7 separate regions of the Homo sapiens genome follow, and regions 1, 3, 4, 5, 6 and 7 are each linked to region 2. The links are contacts of gene promoters, found by promoter capture Hi-C in blood cells and fetal thymus (Javierre and others, 2016). All regions are on one chromosome and are shown on one strand. The core of a region is centred on a gene start or on the middle of the fragment in contact, and the rest is flanking DNA. Distances in the headings are between cores, read along the strand shown. Region 1 has its middle 6.4 kb from the start of TBC1D23. Region 2 holds the start of CLDND1 (claudin domain containing 1). Region 3 overlaps TBC1D23 (TBC1 domain family member 23). Region 4 overlaps CMSS1 (cms1 ribosomal small subunit homolog). Region 5 overlaps CMSS1 (cms1 ribosomal small subunit homolog). Region 6 overlaps NIT2 (nitrilase family member 2). Region 7 overlaps LNP1 (leukemia NUP98 fusion partner 1).

Region 1 (3,209 bases), core at 265-2,764, 1.7 Mb before region 2:
AATAAATTCTCTGTTGTTAATTCTCACTTATAATCTGGTAACTCCTGTATCTCCATTTCCAACCCATTATTACTATAACAATAATGTTGCCATAAAAAACATTATTATTTTAAAAAGTATTAATATTTTCAAAGCATTTATTATTTTAAAAAGTATTAATATTTTCAAAGCATTCTGTGATAATCTGTCAGCAGAGAGAAAGCCCATTTGTCTTCAGCCTATTTGGTATGTACATGGTATGGTGGTACATGGTATGTATGTATATGAAAGCAAATGGACAAGGCCCTCCTGGACATTCCAGTCCCTTTCCACACCATGTTCTTCTTTCCCTTATACTGGTCTCCTCTGTGTTCTTTGAATAAGCCATACTCTTTCCCAACATGTGGCCTTTGCTGTCTCTTCTGTCTTGAAAGATCACCCAGCCCTGCACACCTTTGGGCCCCAACATATGTACACATAGCATCTAGTTACCTCCTACTCTTACTTCAGTGCTCAGCTCAGTTGTCTCTTCCTCAGAGAATGACAGCAAAGCCTTTTGGAATATAGCCGGTCCCTTTATCATATGTGTCTGTAGATACATAATATGTGAGTTGAATGGAGGAATCAAGAAGTTAAAAATGGGAAAGGAGAAGGAAAGCAGAGAGTAATGTAGACTTGAATAGTGTTCAGGTTTTAAAACATTTCTTCTTGATCTACATGGACATGTCTACCGGCTTCTCCTACTTTTAAGTTTACTTGTGGTTCTTTGTAAATGTTTCTTATGTGAGGCTATAAAGAATCCTAAAATCATGAATAGATTGTGAACTCCTTCATTCTCATCATACCACCTCACATTGGACAAGTTTCAGCAATCATTTATTGAGCACTTGAGTACAGACCAAGTTCTGTTCCAGGATTTAGAGGGAATGGTCTTATCTACCTCCCACCTTTCCTACATTTATCTCTTCTTTCTCTTTCTTAGCACAAGCTCAGCCCAGCACTATGTTTTTCAATCCTCTTAGCATTGGAATAATCCAAGGAACTTAAAAACATACACACATAAAACGATGTGGGAACGTCACCCCCGGGAATTCTGATTCTGCTGGTCTAGGGTCAGACACAAGCACAGGTGAGTTTTAAAAGTTTCTTAGGCAGTGCTAATGTGCAGGCAGCATTGAGGACCACTGGCCTAGACTAATCTTGAAATAGAAACTCGAACTGGAGAACTGCAGAACATCTGACTTCTGGAAATCAAAACTTGAGTGGTTCCAATGATACTTTTATTACAACTGATCTCTAAGATGGTGTCAGACCTGCAGAAGGTGCTAAAAAGGCTATAACTGATGCATTGCCCCTGAATTAAGGTTGATGACTTTGGACCTTGGTTGTAGGAAATAATGTGATTACTTGTACACCTGTTTCAGGGGCAGTCACTCACGGTGGAGGAAAGCAGACTAAATGCCTATGGGCACTTTTACCAACTTTTAGGTTCTGTTCTCTGACACTCATGTGTCTCAAAGACTTGAAACAAATACTATTTTATGAGTTTAATGCCTGGGTAACCTGAGGCCCTGAAAGGTTTAGGCTTTATTTTCTGGCACAGTGCAGTAGGCAGGACTCCCGACTCCCAAACTCCAGAGATTATCTCCAGTTGAGGGAACCATGAAGCAAGACGCCTGATTCCTAGCCTTAGCTCAGCCACTAGCCAGGTAGATGTGTGGCCCTGTTTAAGTTATCTCTGATATCGGGGCCTCAGTTTCCTCAGATGAGGTAAATTGAGCTAGATGGTCTATCCGGGCCCCCTTCAGCTTTAACAAGTGTCACTAGGTGGCACTCATGTAACTCCAGTGGGGAGCCATTGGAGCAAGTTGGCTGCCAAGCTCCTTATGTCCCTTAAACGACCCTGGGATCTGTCAGGGGCAGCTTAGAAAATAATGCAATTTTAGGAAGACTGTTTAGGAGTCTTTTTACCAAGAATAGCTTTTGAATCTGCGGACACCTGTTGTATTTTACCAGCTGCTTTCAAGTATTATGTACTTCTGGTTTTATATTCCTATCCTTTTACCATCTCAAATTTTAAAATATTGTATAGAAAACTATTTCTGTGGCTTAGCTACATTTGTAACATTGTCCAGACATACTGGTTTGTGTGACATAAACACATGAGGTATTCTTTTAGCAAGTACTGAAGTCTGCCAGCCATATGCCACTGCATCAGTAACTTTTAAGAGGAGAAAGATTCACTATCCCAATACTGGACTTCAAGCAAATGGGATTCTGCCCTGGGATGTGTCCCCACTGGATAGAGTCAGTCAGATATGGTTCTTGTTTAAAGACTTGCTCCCCAAACCTGGTTTGTCCTGGTGTCTGACATTGCTAGGGAGGTTTATTCTCACTCAGATTCATTTCAGAAATTCAGTTCTGCTCAATGTGGCTTCCGAATTCAACTCACAGGTAGGGGAATTGGGAGCCTCCATGATCCAATACTCAAGGATGGCCCTGTCTTCCGTTGTCAAAAGTCATCCAATTCACATGTCAGGTGCTTTTCCTTCAAGCAAGGGCCACAGGAGTTGCTCCTAAGGATTTATTAACAAAAATAAACATGGAAGAACTAAATTTGGGGCCTAATCCTGTAAGATCCAAGAAGAGATTTAAGAAGTTTCATATTGCCAATTCATTTTGGGAGTAAGAGGTGGACTTTTAATAAAGACTGCCTTCATTACCTGTCAATATAGGAGCCTTCGAGTTGCATACATTTCCTGGGTTGAATTATAATTACGACTTTCAGACCTAGGGGCATGGTGTGGTGTTAAGGTTAGGATAAGGGAATGAATATACATACATATATGTATACACAGGTAAAAGAATAGAAAGATCCAAAGCCAAAATACAGCAGGGACATTTTAAGTGATGTTCATTGTCTTCTTTATTCTTTCCATATTTTTCAGGTTTTATTTAAAGACTATGAATTTGGCCGGGCGCAGTGGCTCATGCCTGTAATCCCAGCACTTTGGGAGGCTGAGGCGGGTGGATCACCTGAGGTCAGGAGTTCGAGACCAGCCTGGCCAACATGGTGAAACCCCGTCTCCACTAAAAATACAAAAATGAGCCAGGTGTGGTGGCATGCGCCTGTAATCCCGGCTACTTGGGAGGCTGAGGCAGGAGAATCACTTGAACCCAGGAGGCGGAGGTTGCAGTGAGCCAAGATTGTGCCATTGCACTCCAGCCTG
Region 2 (3,207 bases), core at 149-2,648:
AATAGGGGATTTCTAATGAAGGCCAATGGATGAAGACATTTCCTGGAGTATAAGGGCATTTATGTGTCTTACTACACATTGACAATTTGCCTGTGCCTCTCCATCACTTTCTCTAGTTGGTGCCTCTGACAAATTTTTTTTTGATTATATGCTGTATATGAAAATCCAGAGTCATGTTTGAATATATTTGGCTACTACCTTATTATGTGCTGCATATGAATATCAGTTTCACCCACTCAGGTCAAAGAAATGTAAGTACAGATAGAGAAACATATCATGCCTTTAATCTGTCAAAGTGGTAGAAATTTAATATCAACTTGCAGCTCCCATCTTTCTCCTATGCTAAATTACAAGGCATTAGGGGACAGAGTGGGGGTTTGAGAGCCCCTCTGGTCCTTGAGTCAGCTTTCTCTGTCGGTTACTGTTGAGAAATCCACCATTTGCTGGTCCCAGGCCACGTTAATAGTTCCACTCATGTTATTGTTAAGATGTCCCTGCTTCCTGTCCATGAATTTCTGTGTTAAACCTGAGGGTTCAGAATCATTGTTGCCCCTGTGCCACACATCATCTGCAATCTCCAATGCTGTCCATGACCTTATCTGCTTGAGTGATGTTCCCCAAATTTCAGTCTTTTTCCTACTATACCCACAATTTTTTATTCATTTTTTGACATATCTGGTATCCTCAGTATTATTAACTTAATAGTTTTTAAAATAAGTGAAAAGAATTTAAAAGGAACAACATTGCTGCAATAGAAAACTAGTATCACTTGTCATAAAAAGAAGGCAGCTACAAACACATTTTATGAAACCCAAATAATATCATTACATTCTTGATGGATACTGTCTGCCAGGTCACATACTTCTTAGCCTAAACTTATGCAATAAAACCAGAAGGATGCTCTGCTCCAATGGGAGGGATTCTGGGAGAGGGAAATAAAATGGGTCAACGTTTCACAAGTAGAATCCCATTTTTGTTCATTTATACTTAGATCTAGAGGCAGGGTGGTGTGATAGGGAAAGCACAGGCCTAAAAGTCAGATCTAAGTTATACAAGTCACGGTCATTGACTCGAGATGACCGGAAACAGGCCCGCTTTACTTTCTGGACCATTCTCCCTTCCTCCCTAAAATGCAAGAATCCAACAGCCTAGACTTCCCTTCTGCGTACCGGCTTGCCCTGAGGAGCTGAACTACATCTCCCACAATGCGCCGCGCGCGGCGCCAGGAATGCCTATCGCCGCCTCAGACAGCTTTCAGTCTGTCCCTCCTACAACTCCCACAAGGCCCCTCGGCCCCGGGCCGCGGCCCGGCCCGGAGTGGGGGCGGGCGGAGGCGCGGGAGTTATGGAGGGGGCGGGCTCTGCAGGGAAGTGCGTCAGAGGAGGCGCGGGGAGAGTAGGGTGCTGTGGTCTGAGCTAGAGGGTGAAGCTGGCGGAGCAGGAGGATGGGCGGTGAGTGAGCGGGACCTGCGTCGCCGGGCAGGGGTCGCGTCGCGGTTCCATGTTCCCGGCGGTTTGAAGAGGGGCCCCCTTCCCGGGCGTGGTCGGGCTGGGCGGGTTCCGAGCGGCGGATTTGTCCCAGGGCCGAGCCCTCTAGGGCGGGGCCTGGTCGGGTACCGGGGGACCCTGGCCCGGGGCCGAGCACGGCTGCCCCGCCCCAGCCCTGGCCTTCTCCGGCCCCGCCGTGAGGCCCAGGAGGTGGCTGCTGCAGGCGTCCGGCTTGGACGAACCGCCGTTCCCAGTGCTGGGACCCTTTAAGGTCATTTGAGAGCACCAGGATGAAGGGGGGATTTTTAAAAAATCAAAATACAAATCCAACTTTTTGAGTTTTCGTTGTCATTGCTCTTATCTTTCCTGAGTCACTTCCCATTTTCCAAACTCAGCAACCCCAGTTTGCGAGTCTGTTTTCATGAACCTTTGTAAGGTGTTTGGTGCGGTCACGGTGTATACTTGCCGTGTAGTATTTGACTCAGCGCGATCTGCCTTGAGTCATTTTACCGCGGCCATTTACTACTGCCGTTGAGCCCTGTCCACGCCTTGGGAGTGTTGATATGTTGAGAGTTTTCTGTCTGGCTGAGGAGGGATCATTTAGTTTTTGCGGACGTATGTTGCACTGAGGATTTAGGGAGAGAGCAAGATTTCTGTTGAGGAGGTTCAGAAGTATAAGGAATCGGGAGAGTAGATAGGAGTGAAGCATTTGGCAGCGTAAAGAAGCTTGGCTTAGCTTTAATGGATTAGGGAGAGATTGCTATCTAGCATTATTACATGTTATTGTTCTCTTTGCTATTTTATACACCTAGAACAACCTTTCCCTCGGGGTTAACAAACATCTTCAACTCTGTTTTCTGTATGGCTCCTGACTCTTACCTTTGTTTTAGGAGGCTTCCCTCTTCAGAGGAAACTGGGAGAAGCCAATTTCCACTGCTTCTTTTTCCTGTGCCTTTTTAACACTCAAACCCAGAACACTTAATCCTCTGCAGCTCGTGCAAAAATTCAGTCTGTAATTTAAAATGTGTGCACGGTACACTGCTGACCATGGGCATGTCTATTGTTTGTATCTGTAATGTGTATGTCCATTTCAGTGTTGTCTGTTTTAGTATGCAGGTGATAGACTAGAGAACAAGACCTCTGTCTCCGTAGCATCCTGGGTATGTGAGCATTCAATAAGTACTTTTATGAGAATGAGTTTTGTTTTAAGCTTAATTAAAAACATGCTTGCTTTCTAAAAAAAATTCTTAATGGTTATATGTACGAAGGGATGGGGAATTGGGTAAAGGGTGCATTTGGAATAATTCAAAATAATCTTTCTTATTTGTCCGTAAACTCTAACTTATCTTCTTTCTTCAACTTCTAAACAGAGCAGTCTGAATGCCAGAATGGATAACCGTTTTGCTACAGCATTTGTAATTGCTTGTGTGCTTAGCCTCATTTCCACCATCTACATGGCAGCCTCCATTGGCACAGACTTCTGGTATGAATATCGAAGTCCAGTTCAAGAAAATTCCAGTGATTTGAATAAAAGCATCTGGGATGAATTCATTAGTGATGAGGCAGATGAAAAGACTTATAATGATGCACTTTTTCGATACAATGGCACAGTGGGATTGTGGAGACGGTGTATCACCATACCCAAAAACATGCATTGGTATAGCCCACCAGAAAGGACAGGTATTTCTCTTATTTTAACTTCTGTCTTCTTCACCTGGTT
Region 3 (3,380 bases), core at 350-2,849, 1.8 Mb before region 2:
AACAAAAAAAAAACACAAAATAATAAAACCAAACCAAAGAACCTGTCACACTCATGAGGATGACTACTACTTTCAAAAAACATAGGTTGACAAAGATGTGAACCCTTGTGTACAGTTAGTGGAAATGCAAAATGACGCAGCCACTATGGAAAACGGTATGACAGTTCCACAAAGAATTAAAAATACATGTCTCATACAATTCAGCAATTCCATATCCTGAAATGTCTGAAAGAATTGAAGGCAGAGTCTGAAAGAGACTTTTGTATACACATGTTCACAGCAGCATTATCCACAGTAGCCCAAAGGTGAATGCAACCCAAGTGTCCGTTCACTGAGGGATGAATGAATAAACAAAAAGGGGGGGGGTGTGTACTGTATGCATAGATATATGTAATTAATAAACAAATATTATATATTTATCATATTATATATGTTTATTAATTTATATATGTAATTAATAAGTTAATTACATATTATAGAATATATATTATATATAATATATAATGGACTATTATACAGCCTAAAAAGGGAGGAAATTCTGACACATGCTACGACATAGATGAACCTTGACAACATTACGGTAAGTGAAATAAATCCGTCCCAAAAAGACAAATACTATACAATGCCACTTATGTGAGGTACCTAGAGTAGTAAATTTAGAGAGCGGTTACCAGGGCAGAGGGAGGGGAGAATGAGGAGCTCTTTAACAGATACAAAGTTTCAGTTCTGCAAGATGAAAAGCATTCTAGAGATTATATGCACAACAATGTAAATGTACTCAATACTAATGTACACTGAAAAATGGTCAAGATGGTAAACTTTTTACATTATGTATATTTTACCACAATTTAAAAAAATCAACTCTATTTAACGTATTATAAAAATTCATAAATTTGAGCTTTAGTGTCAGACCTGGGTTTCAATTTTGGCCCTTCAACAGCCATGTGACCTTACAAAAGGAAAAAGCACCACAATGCTTATCTTATAGGGTCAGTTAATGCTTAAATAAGTTTCTGAACACAAAAAATTCAGGGCAATGCTTGGCTACATAATTCCTTAATAAACAGAATCCATGAATACTATTTCTTTTGTTATTGTTACTGAACAACAGCTTACTTTCTTAAAATGAATTTTTAATCATAATCATTTTAAAGAATTTTGCCAATGCATTAAAAAAATTAAAAACCAACCACAATTCCATTACCATGAGATAATCACTTTTTGTGAATCACTTTTCAGTTTCTCATGTGTGTATTTATAGACATATATATAGACATATATTTACATATAGACATCTATATTTATAATAAACTCAATCATACTGAAAATACAATTTTGAATAGTATTCCCTGGGTTTTATTATGGGGTTTTCATAGTTTTTAGGCTTCCATCTTGAGTTGATTTTTGTATATAGTGTAAAGAAGGGATCCAGTTTCAATTTTCTGCATATGGCTATCCAGTTATCCCAGCACCATTTATTAGATAGGGAATCCTTTCCCCATTACTTATGTCAGGTTTATTGAAGATCAGACAGTTGTAGGTGTGCAGTCTTATTTCTGGGTCCTCTGTTCTGTTCCACTGGTCTATGTGTCTGTTCTTGTACCAGTATCCTGCTGTTTTGGTTACTTTAGCCCTGTAGTGTAGTTTGAAGTCAGGTAGCGTGATGCCTTCAGTTTTGTTCTTTTTGCTTAGGATTGCCTAGGCTATTTGGGCTCTTTTTTGGTTCCATACGAATTTTAAAATAGTTTTCTCTAGTTTTGTGAAGAATGTCAATGGTAGTGTAACGAGAATAGCACTGAATCTACAAATTGCTTTTGTGGGGAAAAGAAAGAGAGATCAGATTGTTACTGTGTCTGTGTAGAAAGAAGTAGACATAGGAGACTCCATTTTGTTCTGTACTAAGAAAAATTCTTCTGCCTTGAGATGCTGTTAATCTATAACCTTACCCCCAAGACATGTGCTGTGTCAACTCAGGGTTAAATGGATTAAGGGCTGTGCAAGATGTGCTTTGTTAAACAGATGCTTGAAGGCAGCATGCTCGTTAACAGTCATCACCACTCCCTAATCTCAAGTACCCAGGGACACAAACACTGCGGAAGGCTGCAGGGACCTCTGCCTAGGAAAGCCAGGTATTGTCCAAGGTTTCTCCCCATGTGATAGTCTGAAATATGGCCTCGTGGGCAGGGAAAGACCTGACCGTCCCCTAGCCCGACACCCGTAAAGGGTCTGTGCTGAGGAGGATTAGTACAAGAGGAAGGCATGCCTCTTTGCAGTTGAGACAAGAGGAAGGCATCTGTCTCCTGCCCGTCCCTGGGCAATGGAATGTCTCGGTATAAAACCGATTGTATGTTCCATCTACTGAGATAGGGGAAAACCGCCTTAGGGCTGGAGGTGGGACATGTGGGCAACAATACTGCTCTGTAAGGCATTGAGATGTTTATGTGTATGCATATCTAAAGCACAGCACTTAATTCTTTACCTTGTCTATGATGCAGAGACCTTTGTTCACGTGTTTATCTGCTGACCTTCTCTCCACTATTATCCTATGACCCTGCCACATCCCCCTCTCTGAGAAACACCCAAAAATGATCAATAAATACTAAGGGAACTCAGAGGCTGGCGGGATCCTCCATATGCTGAACGCTGGTTCCCTGGGTCCCCTTATTTTTTTCTCTATACTTTGTCTCTGTGTCTTTTTCTTTTCCAAGTCTCTCGTTCCACCTAACGAGAAACACCCACAGGTGTGGAGGGGCAACCCACCCCTTCAGCTTTGGGCAGTATGGCCATTTTAACAATATTAATTCTTCCTATCCATGAGGATGGAATGTTTTTCCATTTGTTTGTGTCATCTCTGGAGGCCATTATCACTAGCAAACTAAAGGAGGAACAGAAAACGAAATACTGCATGTTCTCAAACATATTACTTCTCTAGCGTATTAAGTAACTGCTACTTAAGAAAGGATACTTTACAGAATCATTAAGTAGGAAACAATGTGGCACATGTACTACTTTATCTGTCTCATTTTAGTTCTCCAATACTGAATATTGGAAGGATAAACAGGCGAAACAAGTTCAACTTATAGCTGACAACAAACTGTATTTTAAAGGTTTACAGTATGATAAACTTGGAAGTAACTTAAAAGATATAAAAACATGTGGCTCAATTTTTGAGTGGAGAAAATAATTAATTTGAGGGAGTAAGTATCCTCCCCATACTCCCTGTGGATGGAGACAAAGGTAAGGGATGGAAGGGTGGCATGGATTCGTTAGAAAAGCCTTCATGTGGCTTCACTTTATGTCCTCTGTCTTGATTCCATGGCCCAAAACTTAAAGCACATTCTTGACAACACCCTTGACTTCTTCACTCCTTGCTCTTTCTG
Region 4 (3,524 bases), core at 134-2,633, 1.4 Mb before region 2:
CTGCTTCAAGTCCAGGCATTGGAAAAATGACAAACCTCACTTACAGCTATCATTTCTAGAGTAATATTTTGGATAGTAGTATATTATGTAAAAAATGCCAATTTAAAAGGTAAAACTTATAGAGTAACTGTATTAATCAGTAACATTTTAAACCATAATTAGTTACATCTAAATCCTGAAGAGGCTATTGCTACCAATGAACTCTTACAGTATGATAACTGAACACTTGGCAGAAAAATCTCCATAATATTTTACTTCATTTTTTCCAACTAAAAGTCAACGTAGGAATTAAAAATAAAAAGGTTATGTCAACTTTAGAACACTGGAATAGGAGATGAAAAATTGATTCATCATTCAATCCTTATCTGGTCTAAACATATATTGTAAAATAAAACTTTAACAACTATGTGACAGAATTGTCCCTTTTAAAACAGTCTCTATGTTTTATAAGTATATACAATTCAAACTCAGAATTCATAGGCTGCCATTTATATTTACTCTGAGATTTTAAAATGCTGGCATTTTAGTTGGCACTAAAATGACCATATAAGATAACTGTTTGGAGGTACAGTAAAAGTTTAACAGAGGAGCAGAGCACTATAACCACTGAGGTGTATGTGTGTGTTACAAACTCATGTTTTTATATTTAATTGTCAGAAGAAAATGTCAGATCCCAGATTTTATCATTGAAACACAGCATTTAAAAAATACTCAAAATGTGGGTTATATCTGTATATTTCTAATAATTTCTGTTGGATGGTTTTTAAAAGTATATGACATTGGTGCCTATCATTTTTGCCTCATAGCAGTTTTTTTGTTTTTGCTAATTTTGTTTGGAGCAATGCACGACTTTGGTTTTCATATTTTAAAAGAAAAATTATATGTTATTTGGCCTGAGGATAGGCTATATAAACTGCAGGTTAGTACTGAGAAGTAGGATTTTCCACAAACTATTATTTCAAACCTAGGGAAGCCCACCATAATGAGAAGAGCGGGGCCAACACCCATGTCACTGTGGAGAAGTACAGAATATGCAATGGAAGAGTTGTTTATCTGATATAAGCGGTAATTGGAAACTGAAAAATTCCTGCTCTGGAAAAAAGATATTCTGCTCTTCTGAATCTAACAGAGGAAGAGACAAACAGAAACCATCAATTATTGTTTCAGGTATACCCAGAGTACCATCTGTACCATAAACTACAACTCAACTGTTGAAAATCATAACTTCCATCAAAATTCTAACAGCTGTGTTTCCCAGTGTCTTTTATTTTTTTAAAGCAGGCAAGCATCGATTTTTTAAAATTTAAAAATAACACTCTTTAATATTCCACACTTTTTCCCATTTATTAACTTTAAAGCATGGTTCAAAGAACAATCACATAAGACCTCTTTTAAAACTGAAAGCTAAGTATGACTTATCATGGATACCCTATCTCACACTGGGCTCTTTGGATGAGCAATTTCTTAGTCCTTGGGACAATCTGTATGATGGGAAAATGTTTTTGATAGAATGAATGTGAATTTCTACACTTCCAAATAAAGCACATAATAATTTTATGCTTAGTAAGTTCATTTGCACTTTTGTGGTGATTAACCTTAACTGTTAAGCCCTGGTATTTTTGTGCTATTTTCCTAATGCTGTGATGGAGACTATAGTAACAGCCAGTATGAAAACACAAATCAAGCCTTGACTTAATTTTCCGGTTCTCTTGCAGTTCCCATTAATTTGCCTTCTCAAAAGGCTGTAAATTTTGTTTAAGGGTTCTCTGCTGTAATTTCCCCTCCAAAAAAGTGCCTTTGGTAATAAATGGATTTTGAGATTTAAGAAAAAAAACTGAAAATGTAGGAGGAAGAATAAGATTCCAATAATTCTGCTTAGGTCATGTTCTGTCCATGTCTAGTGCTTCAGGGCAAAGTGAACATTTTACAAGGTGAATAGAAAAAAAACATACAGCCCCTCCTATTTAAAGGAAAAAGGAAGAGGGGCAAGAAGAGAACTGTTTATAAAAGACTGGATATTGTGGATGTAAGGCAATATTGGTCTCAACCTGCTTCAGGAACTGAAATGGCCCCATCTGTTGTTCACAGAGCCTGTCATCTTTGAAAAATCTAATACACCCTACCTTATCTGTTGGACATATTAATTTTAAACGATTTTAAGGTCCATTTAATTTGTATTTGACCATGAATTCAGCTTCAATTTAAACTGATTGTTTAGTTTTTGTAAATTATATTTAAATAAGGATTTAAAGATGAAGAGACACTGCATATGCAGCCAGCATCACAAACCTTCAAAGCAATATTTCTGTGGTTGCTGCTGTCATCACCACAACATTTTCTAGCCACCAACCCAGTCACTTATGCTTAAAGTGTGCTGCAATGACTTTTAGAACCTCCTATGGCTGGTCATTTTCTACTTAAAATGAGGTAGGACATTCATGTTTTGAGTCATTTTGTTAGGTACACTAATTCCTAGCAGATTATCACCAACACTTATCAGCCTTTGCACATCCCTCCTTTTTTTAAAAAAAAAAAAAGACTTGAGATTCTCCTTGACCTTCATCTGCACTAACATCGTCTCTGCCTGGGAAAGCTGGGCAAACAAAAATGGGAAGGCTTACCAAGGAAAGTCCCTGGTTTCTTTTTCAGATATGAGAAACACTCCCTCTTCATGCTTGTTCTCTGAGATGCTTTAGCAGATTAAGATAGGACAGCAGCAGTTTTAATTCTGAGCCCAAGAACGAGAACACATTAGCAGTATTCTTTTTCCAGTCTGACCGTCCTCACATTTCTATGCTCTACTGGCTCCAAAATATGATAAATTGTTAAGTATAGAATTTTTTTTAAACAAGCTTGGGGAATGATGTGTTTGTGGGGGCAGGCAGGGGAGCAGTAGGGAGGTAAGTAGAGGAGTAGATAGGTAAGTGTATGATTGGGACAGACAGGATGCAGACATACCTCAACTCCTTGTGTCTGTTTATGATAACTACTTATTCTAGCCTAAAGGAGTTATTATCAGCAAAAGAAAGCATACATTACATCAGAACAGCAAACATTCAACTATGAATTTGAGAAGTACCTTGATAAGGTACTTGACTATATGGAAAATGGGATACCCCAGGCCCCACAGTCACACACACACACACACACACACACACACACACACACACACACACACACACACAGTCCTGGCACAGAATATCCACAGAATTTTACAGCTGGAAGGGGCAATGGAGGTCATCTGATCCAAATGCCTCACTTTACAGAAGAAACTGATGTCCACAGTGTGACTTGCCCCAGAGACACAGCTATGCAGAGGTAGGGCCAGGGCCCCCTGCATTCTTGGGCTACAGCTCACCAGTAGTTTTTCCTTAATTAGTGCTAGGAAGAGAGGAGAACAGAAGCCCCAGAAAAAGCCTCAGTACTGTAGGTGTTAATTTAGATATAAAATCCATTAAAAAAAGAAAGTAGAAAGGTTCAAAGTTCTTAAGTATAAGCAATAAAAAAGCAAAGGATAAGGAAGC
Region 5 (3,087 bases), core at 79-2,578, 1.5 Mb before region 2:
CCACTAGGAAGCTTAGAGCTAAATAGTGATTAACTTCTAATAACCGTAAAGAACCACACAGTATATGGTCCTTTGAACAACTCAGAAGTTAGGGTCACTGACCCTCTGTGCAGTTGAAAATCGCATATAACTTTTGACTCCCCCCAAACTTAACTACTAGTAGCTTACTGTTGACCAGAAGCCTTATTGATAAAATAAAAAGTCAATTAACAAGTATTTTGTATGTTGTATATATATTATAAACAGTAGTCTTACAATAAAGTGAGCTAGAGAAAAGAAAATGTTAGAAGACAATCATAAGGAAGAGAAAGTACATTTACTATTTGTTAAGAAAATATATTTACTATTCATTATTCTTCAAGTAGGCTGAGAAGGAGGAGGAAGAAGGGTTGCTCTTGCTGTCTCAGGAATGGCAGAAGTCGACAGAGTTCAAAACCATGTTGTTCAAGGGTCAACTTATTTCTGTTTCTCACTATTATCTCTGGCTTTATATTCTAATCACTTTTATTCCCTCAATGAATTATTTTAATTTTCTGTACTGCATATGTTTTGGAAGTGAGGTATAAATAGATCAATCAATAAAAAGAAGACTCCCTCTTAAAAATATGACACTCTAGTGCCATATTAACCTCCCTTATAATGCTGAGTGATTTTTTAAAAAGCTCTCCCCAAATTAATCCTTCATCGACTTTGGTAAGTTCGGTAAGACCCTAGGGTTTCATAACAAGCTAGAAGAGCAATAGTCTAACCTCTAATCTTTGTTGAGTATGCTCAAACCTCAAAAACAGATGATAAATGAAACAAGAGAACAGTTTATTTGTTACCATGATTTATTGCCACGTTTCTATAATGTAGAGAAGATATGTGTTCCCAAAGGTATAACTTCAAATAGTAAGGAGAGAAGGTAAAAGAAAAAACAAGGAAAGAGAACTGTTTGCAATTGTCAGACACAAATTTCTACAGTTTTTTTCCAGTTAAATTCAGACATCGACTTTGTTTCTGGCATAAAAATTTTATGCCCTTTTGTTTGCTATACTCTTTTATTCATATAAGATGTAATCCATTAGGTTTGAAAATAGACAATTGTGTGTGTGGTAACTTTAATTCCATGACACAAACAAAAGTGCTTTTCCATAACTGTCCAAGTCCATATTTAAGCAATCAGTCTAGGCCATCATATCAACCTTATATAATTCTGCACAACAGATTTTTTTTTAAAGAGTAAAATACAATTTTAGAAGCAGAAAGAAAATGTCCTAGGAGAAAAACCTAGGGCTAGTTAGGAAAATCTGGAATCCCAGTCTTTGTCCATGTACAGGGGCTGAGAAACATAAAACCCACCTGGACTTGATTGCTTCCTTTAGTGAGATGTTAACAGAGTGGAAATGATTCCTGATTTGGCTTTTATTTTCCCTCTCTAAATGGCAGTCCAAAAAAGTGGTGCAAGAATCACCTGGCACCTCAATTACCATGCTCAGTTTCTCCCCTGACACTGTGTGGTGGGTTGTGTCACAATAACTTTGCACCCACAGATATGGCTTCAGGGTGGGCTCTGACTGAGATGGAGTGAGCTCCGTGTCACAGCTTGCCTCGGTTAGCCACAGCTGCAGGGAAGAGCTGGCTCTACTCTTCCTCCTCTTTCCCCAACTCACCCCAAGCAAATGCTTCAAGCAGCTGCCATACTTGAGGGCTGGCAGTGCCGAAGGCTCTGAAGGTCTGGAAAGGGGAGAAATGAGGGGCCTCTGGGACTAAAGCATAACCAAATTAAGGGATAAACAAGTGAGTTAACTTTAAGTCTATTGCTAGTTTTCCTAGTAAAATAAAGACAGTGGAAGGATTTGGTCTGGACCTATCTGTCCCCTTCCCTGAGGGCTGTTCAGCAGAGCTTGGGACCTGGTCATTTGTGGGGCAAACAGGGCCAGAATGCAGGAAGACAATGCAAGCACAAGTGGACTTGGATTGTGGCTGTTTGGCCCCTATATGCCAGCTTGCCTGGGACAGTCCCTTACTACTAATTTAAACCCTTTCACTTTCACAAGCTATGGCCCAGTGTTTCTTAGGAGGGTATATTTACACTATAGGAGGGACAATTCGTTCTTTCATGAGTCTGCTCAACTCACCATAGAAAATTTGCCTACTAAGTGCCAGAAGCTACCTCCATCCTATCATTTTTCGCCCACCCTGTCATTTTGACAACCAAAAATGCCTTCCTTTTTTTTTTCAAATGCCTTCTGGGGAGAGCAGTGAGGCCCAGACGCACAGCCACTGAATGCCCTGTCAGTTAAAAGAGGAAGCAGAGGCTAAGAGAGGTGAAATGATTTGATTGAGGCTATAGCTAGACAGTGGCAGGGGCATTGTTTCTTGACTTCACATACAGTGAGGCTTCCAGAAGGACAAAACTCTACTGTCTCTTGACAGACACCTGCAGTTGAATCACTGTTTGCGGAGGCATAAACTGCAGGGAAAGAATTTACATGTGGTAATACCAGTGTTTTATTTGTGGCCACTTAATCATTCGCAGTCAGTAGCTTTATGACCCTCGCTGGTTTCAGAGGTTATGAATAATAATGGTATTCTTTAAGGAGGACATGATACTTTAGTTTTTTTAAACACATAGAATTTGGAGTTAAGTCATAAAAGCTTTCCAGAAAGGAAGAGGAGAGTTGTCATTAATTTTTAAATGCATGAAGCTTAAAGAGGGATTTACAATAATAGCATCAATAAATATGCTTTGGAAGCACCTTTTCTTCAAGGAATTCAAAACCTTTTTTTCTTCTAAAAATGTTTAAAGATATATTGTTCTCAAAAGAAGAAAATAACAACACTTCCCTCCGATAGTTTTTACTAGTTTCACTTCCTTAAAAGCATTTAATCCTGAAAATAACCCTAGAAAGGTAGGCAGAGAAAGTATTATACCCATTTTACCAACAAGGAAATTTAGGTTAGAAAACTTCAATGGCTAAACATTTAGCAGTTTTGGACCTTCAAAACCTGAGGACAATACCCTTTACATTTTATCTTGAAAACTCAAGTCGGGAGCACTGTTGATAGTCAATTATTATATTTACTTAAATAACAGCCTCTTTC
Region 6 (3,364 bases), core at 7-2,506, 1.8 Mb before region 2:
GGAGTTCAAAACCAGCCTGGGCAACAAGGTGAAACTCTGTCTTTACAAAAAAATACAAAAATCAGCCAGGCATGGTGGCGCACACCTGCAGTCCTAGCTACTCAGGAGGTGGGAGAATCACTTGAGCCTCGTAGGGTGAGGCTGCAGTGGGCCATGATCACACCACTGTACTCTAGCACGGGTGACAAAGCAAGACCTCACCTCAAAAAAAATAAATAAATAAGAAAAAGAAACTCTCTGCTTCAGCTTCCCAAGCTGAAGCTTCCCAAGTAGGGAATACAGGCGCACGCCACCACACCTGACTCATTCAGATGTTTCTAATGTTTAGGTCATTATACCTTGTGGGTAGGAAGTTACCTCCAATGAGATATATGCTGCATTCCTTTGCTACTTCAGAAAGCTTCTGTGTGGATTCACCAGGAATTTTCTCTGCATATTCAGGAAAATATTTCGCTCCATATGGAGAATTAAAGCATTCCTAGAAAAATATTGGCAGAGAAAAAAAAAGATCAAAACACCCACCCATTTTAAAGTTCTGCTGTAAGAGGCCATAGCTGCTGCTTCTAGCTCTGCTTTCAGTCGAAGGGTTAAAACACAGCTAATAAGAAAAACACTGACATCTCAAGGGTAAAGAGCCTGTAGCCACAGGTAAGACTACAAAGCTAGCCTAGTGGGTTGGAGGAGACAAATCACAGGTGTTCTCCCAGAGCTCATTTAAAAAAAAAATGTTGGAGGCTTAGTGCTAAAACCAATATGTTCTGGTTCTATAAAGACTTAGTTAAATAAGGAACAAAGTATCCAAGCACTGAGTATTTTAGTTTTCCGTAAGTCCCTCAATATACTAGGATTTTGGCTTCCTCATCTGAACAAAGAGGAAGATCCAAAACCTAAAGACCTATGACCGTGTTGGCACATCCTATCTCACAAAGAACCTTGCTAAGGTCATCCTCCAGTCAGACTCGGAACAATCTATGGGCTCCAAGGGACACTGCTGGACCCCAGGATACAAGAGGACAACCAGAGCTAGCAAACACCGTTCTGCTTGGGTGTACAGTGGCTAGAACAGAATGGCTGCTCCCATACTGACCGGCAAAGAAACTATTTTGGCTCCTTGCGTTGCTGCCTCCCGGATGAAGCTACAAGCGCGAGTGACGTTATCTGATTTGATGGAAGAAATCTGAAGCTGGATGAGGGCCAAGCGGAAAGCTGAGAACAAAGACAAAAGAAAACAGCTATCAGAAGATCGAACTGCTGGATTCAGACAGAGCCATAGTTCTCAAATGGAAGGCAGTTATGTCCCCGGGGGGACATCTGACAATGTCTGAAGATACCTTTGATGCCACAACTGATGAGGTATGAGTGGCATCTAATGAATAGAGACCAAGGATACTGCCAAACATCCTACAATGCATAGGACAACCCCCTCCATAACACAACGAAGAATTATCCTGTCCAAAATGTCAATAGTCTAAAATCTATCTGGAGATAGAGCAATATCCATGGGCAAAGTCCCATGCCAGGCACAAGAATCTAGAGTGAACCAGCTTCTTACTACGCAGTGTAGGGAATGAAATGAGAATATGGCTTAAAGTAAAAAGACTGGGTTTGAATATGGTCCTGTCCCTTACTGTTTGTTCATGGGCCTCTCGTCTACCTCCAATCCATATACTGAGTATGTCCCAGCACAGAAAGTGTGATTCCTTGGAAGCTGCTCACATAATTCCCATGAGCAGCCCAGCTCATGGGAAGGGAAGATGTCTGTCTCAGTTTCCCCACTACTGGCTGGGTCACAGCACATCGATCCCGCTGCTGGCAGAGGGAAAACCTGGCAGCCAGTGAGCTGCACACATGCCTATTCACAGGACAGGGGTCCCAGGCACCTCTAAAAGTCTGCACTTACCCCATAAGTATTCATGTGTCCAAGAGAACATGATATTAAACAGCAAATAACACCATGAGAGGTTGAAAGAGATACTGCAGAAGGAAAAGCTAACAGCACTTTTCTCTTGCTATCTGAACAAGGGAACTGGGCCCCACAAATTATGTAGCCAGCCCTGACAAGGTCTGTGCTCAGCCCTGGAGCAAGGAGGTTGGGGGCTCTTCCAAGCTTATTTCTTCCTGGAGGTAGTAGCTATACATCATATTTGCTTTTCTTCTGTTCTTTAAAGTTCCCTTTTAGCTTTTATGATAATCACTTTCCATTAGCTAATATTTTTTATTTTGAGGCAGGGCCTTGTTCTGTCGCCTAGGCTGGAGTGCAGTGGCACAAACATGGTCCACTGCAGCCTTGACCTACTCAGTTCAGGCAATCCTCTTGTCTCAGCCTCTTATGTAGCTGGGACCACAGGTATGCACCACCATGCCGGGCTAATTTTTTAATTATGTAATTTTTTGTAGAGACAGGGTCTCACTTTGTTGCCCAGGCTGGTCTCGAACTCCTGGGCTCAAGCGATCCTCCTGCCTCAGCCTCTCAAACTGCTGCGATTATAAGCATGAGCCACCACGCCTGGCCAGATAATAATTTTTTATATAAAATTTTCCGCCGGGTGTGATGGCTCACGCCTGTAATCCCAGCACTTTGGGAGGCCAAGGCAGGTGATCACCTGAGGTCAGGAGTTTCAGACCAGCCTGGCCAACGTGGTGAAACCCCGTCTCTACTAAAAATACAAAAATTAGCCAGGTGTGGTGGTGGGCACCTGTAATCCCAGCTACTCAGGAGGCTGAGGCAGGAGAATCAGTTGAACCTGGGAGTTGGAGGTTACAGTGAGCCAAGATCGCGCCACTGCACTCCAGCCTGGACGACAGAGTGAGACTCAGTCTCCAAAAAAATAAATAAATAAATAAATAATTTTCCTTGTTCGAGTTACTAGTGTTGTTTCCATGTCCTGTCTGGACCCTGATGGATACATAGTTCCTGCTTATGGTCTGGTGGGACGCAGCAGTAAAGGATCCAAAGCACATTATAATCTATGAAGCTCTGCAAAACTTCAGGAATTATTAGTGTAGGGAAAAGAAAGAGCGATCAGATTATTACTGTGTCTGTGTAGAAAGAAGTAGACATAGGAGACTCCATTTTGTTCTGTACTACGAAAAATTCTTCTGCCTTGAGATGCTGTTAAACTATAACCTTACTCCCAACCCCGAGCTCTCTGAAACATGTGCTGTGTCCACTCAGGGTTAAATGGATTAAGGGCTGTGCAAGATGTGCTTTGTTACAGATGCATGAAGGCAGCATGCTCCTTAAGAGTCATCACCACTCCCTAATCTCAAGTACCCAGGGACACAAACACTGCGGAAGGCCGCAGGGACCTCTGCCTAGGAAAGCCAGGTATTCTCCAAGGTTTCTCCCCATGTGATAGTCTGA
Region 7 (3,121 bases), core at 395-2,894, 1.9 Mb before region 2:
TTCAATCCAAATAAGACTATCACAAGACATATTATAATCAAACTCTACAGATCTAAGACAAAGACAGGATCCTAAAAGCAGCAAGACAAAAAAAGCAAGTAACATATACGGCAGTTCCAATATGCCTAGCAGCAGATTTCTCAACAGAAATCTTACAGGCCAGGGAAGAGTGGTATGATATAGTCAAAGTGCTAAAGGAAAAAAAAGACTGTCAATCAAGAATACTGTACTCAGCAAAACTGTCATTCAGAAATGAACATGAGATAAAGACTTTCCTAGTCACACAAAATCTGAGGGAGTTCATCACCACCAGACCTGTCTTACAAGAAATGCTAAAGGGTGTTCTTCAAGCTGAAAGGACACTAATGATAAACACAGAAACATCTGAAAGTATAAAACTCCCTGGCAAAAATACGTACATAGCTAAATTTAATTTATAATACTCTGATACTGTAATGGTAGCATTTAAATACTGTAATGAGGGTGTGTAAATCACGTATCTTTAGTAGGGCTAAAAGATAAAAGTATTAAAATTAATAACTACAGCAACTTGTTGATGGATATGCAATATAAAAATACTTAAATTGTGAAATTGAAAGCACAAAATATTGAGGAAAGGAAGTGGAGTTAAAGTGTAGTTTGCATGTGTATGTGTAAATAATCAAAGTTAACTTGTTATCAGTCTAAAATAACCTGTAATATCTATGTTTTTTGAAGCAAAAACCGACAATAGATACACTAAAAATAAAAATCAGCCAGGCGAAGTGGCTCATGCCTGTAATCCCAGCACTTTGGGAGGCTGAGGCAGGCGGATCATGAGGCCAGGAGTTTAAGACCAGCCTGGCCAACATGGCAAAACCCCGTCTCTACTAAAAATACAAAAATTAGCCAGGCATGGTGGCGGGCACCTGTAATTCCAGCTACTTGGGAGGCTGAGGCAGGAGAATCGCTTGAACCCGGGAGGCGGAGGTTGCAGTGAGCCGAGATCATGCCATTGCACTCCAGCCTGGGCAACAAGAGCAAGACTCCATCTCAAAAAATAAAAATAAAAAAATAAAAATCAAGCAATCAAAAACACCACCACAGACACATTTATAATGTTTAAACAAGTATCTGGGTATCCCATGGCCCAGTCAAATTGACACATGAAATTACCCATCACACCACCTATATTCTGGGCTCTGGCTGTACAAAATGAACAGTTTCTGTCCTCGTGGGGCTTACATCCTATTGAGGGGATCACACTATTTTTTTATTTTTCCCACAGACAAGTGTACACCTGAGAGGTTTTTTTTTTCTTGAGGCGGCATCTCACTCTGTCACCCAGGCTGGAGTATAATAGGGTAATCTCGGCTCACTGCAACCTCCGCCTCTGGGGTTCAAGCGATTCTCCTGCCTCAGCCTCCTGAGTAGCTGGGATTACAGGCATGTGCCACCATGCCCGGCTAATTTTTGTATTTTTAGTAGAGACAGGGTTTCACCATGTTGGTCAGCCTGATCTTGAACTCCTGACCTCAGGTGATCCACCCGCTTCGGCCTCCCAAAGTGTTGGGATTACAGGCACAAGCCACTGCACCCGGCCCACATAGGTAATTTCTAATAGTGCTAGGTGCTAATATCGTAGACCAAAGAAAGAGAAGAGGTGTATGAAGGGAGGCATGGGTGGGCAGAAATGTTGAACTTTATAGTGAAAGTGAAGAGGATTTAAAAGTCTTTCAGCTCAAGAGTGAAATTACAGTTATGCTATAGGAAGAGTAAATTGATATCAAGGTGCAGGGTGACACATAGAAGAGAGGCACTAGAGGCAGAGAAATTATCTGGGAAGCAAGCAAATATAGGATTTAGGCAAGATGAAGGAAATGAATAAAAGAGAAAAAAGAGGGGAATGTAATAGTATTAGGAGTTGAGGCCTTTGGGAAGTGATTAGATCATGAGGATGGAGCCCTTAAAAATAGGATGAGTGCCCCTATAAAAATGAGACTCCAGAGAACTTTCTTGCCCCTTTCCACTATTTGAGGACACAAACCAAATTTGCAGTCCTCAACCCAGAATAGGGCTCTTACAGAATTTGACCATGCTGGCACACTGATCTCAAACCCCCATCCTCAGGAATTGTGAGAAATAAATTTCTATAGTTTATTAGCTAAGTAGTTTTATGATATTTTTGTTATAGCAGCCTGTACTAAGATGGGAAGAAACTATTTATTGAGTATCTGTTATGTGTTATACATACTCTTAGGAGTTTTCACTTATATGAACTAAGAAGTGTCAGAATGGGTGAAAAAACTATAAGAAAGATATTACAACAAAGTTGAATTTGTTGAAGACTTCACAGCTGATTTTGTGTTTATGTGTGTATATAAATACAACAGCATAATCATTTGTGCTTGGGTAGGTAAGGATGAAAAAGAGAGAGGTCTAAAAAGGTCTATGGTTTCAAATATGAGTAACTGCTAAGGTAATAGTGGTATTATTAGAAAAAATGGATAACACAGGCTGGGTACAGTAGCTCATGCCTGTAATCCCAGCACTTTGAGAGGCCGAGGCGGGCGGATCACGAGGTCAGAAGATCGAGACCATCCTGGCTAACACGGTGAAACCCCGTCTCTACTAAAAATACAAAAAATTATCCAGGTGTGGTGGCGGGCGCCAGTAGTCCCAGCTACTCGGGAGGCTGAGACAAGAGAATCGCTTGAACCCAGGAGGCAGAGGTTGCAGTAAGCCGAGATCACACCACTGCACTCCAGCCTGGGCAACAGAGCGAAATTCCATCTTGGAAAAAAAAAAAAAAAAAGGATAACACAAAGAGAAAGAATGAGTGGGGAAAATGATGAGTTATATTTTTGACAAAAGTCAGGAATCCAAGCAAAACTGCTCAGTAAGTAGTAAGAAATATAGGGCTAGAGGTAAAAAGGGAAGCTATGCCAAAAGATATATAGACAGTGATTATCTGCACAGAAATGGTACCTGAAGCAATGAGATTTACTTTGGTTACTAATGGAGAGATTGAAGATAAAGAAGAAGACATATTCTAATAAATTCCTCACTTGAGGAATATCTAGAGCTGTGCTGTCCAATATGGTAGTCATTAGCCACATGATACTACTTAAATCAATTAAAT

Evidence for each region. The method cuts DNA at HindIII sites, captures the fragments that hold promoters and counts their contacts. A CHiCAGO score of 5 or more calls a contact.
Region 1: a contact is called between a fragment that was not itself captured here and the fragment with the promoter of CLDND1 in region 2, in 5 of 17 cell types (fetal thymus, naive CD8 T cells, non-activated CD4 T cells and 2 more). The highest score is 7.5, in fetal thymus.
Region 3: a contact is called between a fragment that was not itself captured here and the fragment with the promoter of CLDND1 in region 2, in 1 of 17 cell types (fetal thymus). The highest score is 5.1, in fetal thymus.
Region 4: a fragment that was not itself captured here is called in contact with the fragment with the promoter of CLDND1 in region 2 in 3 of 17 cell types (total B cells, fetal thymus and total CD4 T cells); the score reaches 9.0 in total B cells.
Region 5: a fragment that was not itself captured here is called in contact with the fragment with the promoter of CLDND1 in region 2 in 1 of 17 cell types (total B cells); the score reaches 7.5 in total B cells.
Region 6: a fragment that was not itself captured here is called in contact with the fragment with the promoter of CLDND1 in region 2 in 1 of 17 cell types (total B cells); the score reaches 12.2 in total B cells.
Region 7: a fragment that was not itself captured here is called in contact with the fragment with the promoter of CLDND1 in region 2 in 4 of 17 cell types (non-activated CD4 T cells, naive B cells, total B cells and 1 more); the score reaches 8.0 in non-activated CD4 T cells.

The regions. Positions count from the first base shown.
Region 1 is chr3:100,252,967-100,256,175 of GRCh38, reverse strand. No RefSeq gene overlaps it. Among named protein-coding and RNA genes, the nearest start is that of TBC1D23, 6.4 kb to the left of the region's middle. The HindIII fragment of the contact is 4,896 bases long and covers 1-3,209 here.
Region 2 is chr3:98,521,093-98,524,299 of GRCh38, reverse strand. It overlaps CLDND1 (claudin domain containing 1), which reads left to right and starts at 1,398. Exons shown (of 5, transcript NM_001040181.2): 1 at 1,398-1,451; 2 at 2,858-3,167. The coding sequence starts at 2,876. CLDND1-AS1 (CLDND1 antisense RNA 1) reads right to left here and starts at 1,730. Exons shown (of 2, transcript NR_198998.1): 1 at 1,467-1,730. RefSeq lists silencers at 1,152-1,791, 1,842-1,951. The HindIII fragment of the contact is 2,905 bases long and covers 1-2,215 here.
Region 3 is chr3:100,271,881-100,275,260 of GRCh38, reverse strand. The region is part of intron 1 of TBC1D23 (TBC1 domain family member 23); the gene reads right to left. Among named protein-coding and RNA genes, the nearest start is that of TBC1D23, 13 kb to the right of the region's middle. The HindIII fragment of the contact is 7,791 bases long and covers 1-3,380 here.
Region 4 is chr3:99,871,931-99,875,454 of GRCh38, reverse strand. The region is part of intron 1 of CMSS1 (cms1 ribosomal small subunit homolog); the gene reads right to left. All of the region lies in intron 4 of FILIP1L (filamin A interacting protein 1 like), which reads left to right. The region is part of intron 1 of LOC105374010 (a long non-coding RNA gene); the gene reads right to left. Among named protein-coding and RNA genes, the nearest start is that of HP09053, 50 kb to the right of the region's middle. The HindIII fragment of the contact is 2,943 bases long and covers 1-2,854 here.
Region 5 is chr3:100,046,965-100,050,051 of GRCh38, reverse strand. All of the region lies in intron 1 of CMSS1 (cms1 ribosomal small subunit homolog), which reads right to left. All of the region lies in intron 1 of FILIP1L (filamin A interacting protein 1 like), which reads left to right. Among named protein-coding and RNA genes, the nearest start is that of FILIP1L, 66 kb to the left of the region's middle. RefSeq lists an enhancer at 2,204-2,293. The HindIII fragment of the contact is 2,629 bases long and covers 14-2,642 here.
Region 6 is chr3:100,336,929-100,340,292 of GRCh38, reverse strand. It overlaps NIT2 (nitrilase family member 2), which reads right to left. Exons shown (of 10, transcript NM_020202.5): 2 at 1,088-1,206; 3 at 358-478. Among named protein-coding and RNA genes, the nearest start is that of NIT2, 3.9 kb to the right of the region's middle. The HindIII fragment of the contact is 1,707 bases long and covers 403-2,109 here.
Region 7 is chr3:100,404,465-100,407,585 of GRCh38, reverse strand. All of the region lies in intron 1 of LNP1 (leukemia NUP98 fusion partner 1), which reads right to left. Among named protein-coding and RNA genes, the nearest start is that of LNP1, 4.5 kb to the right of the region's middle. The HindIII fragment of the contact is 5,109 bases long and covers 1-3,121 here.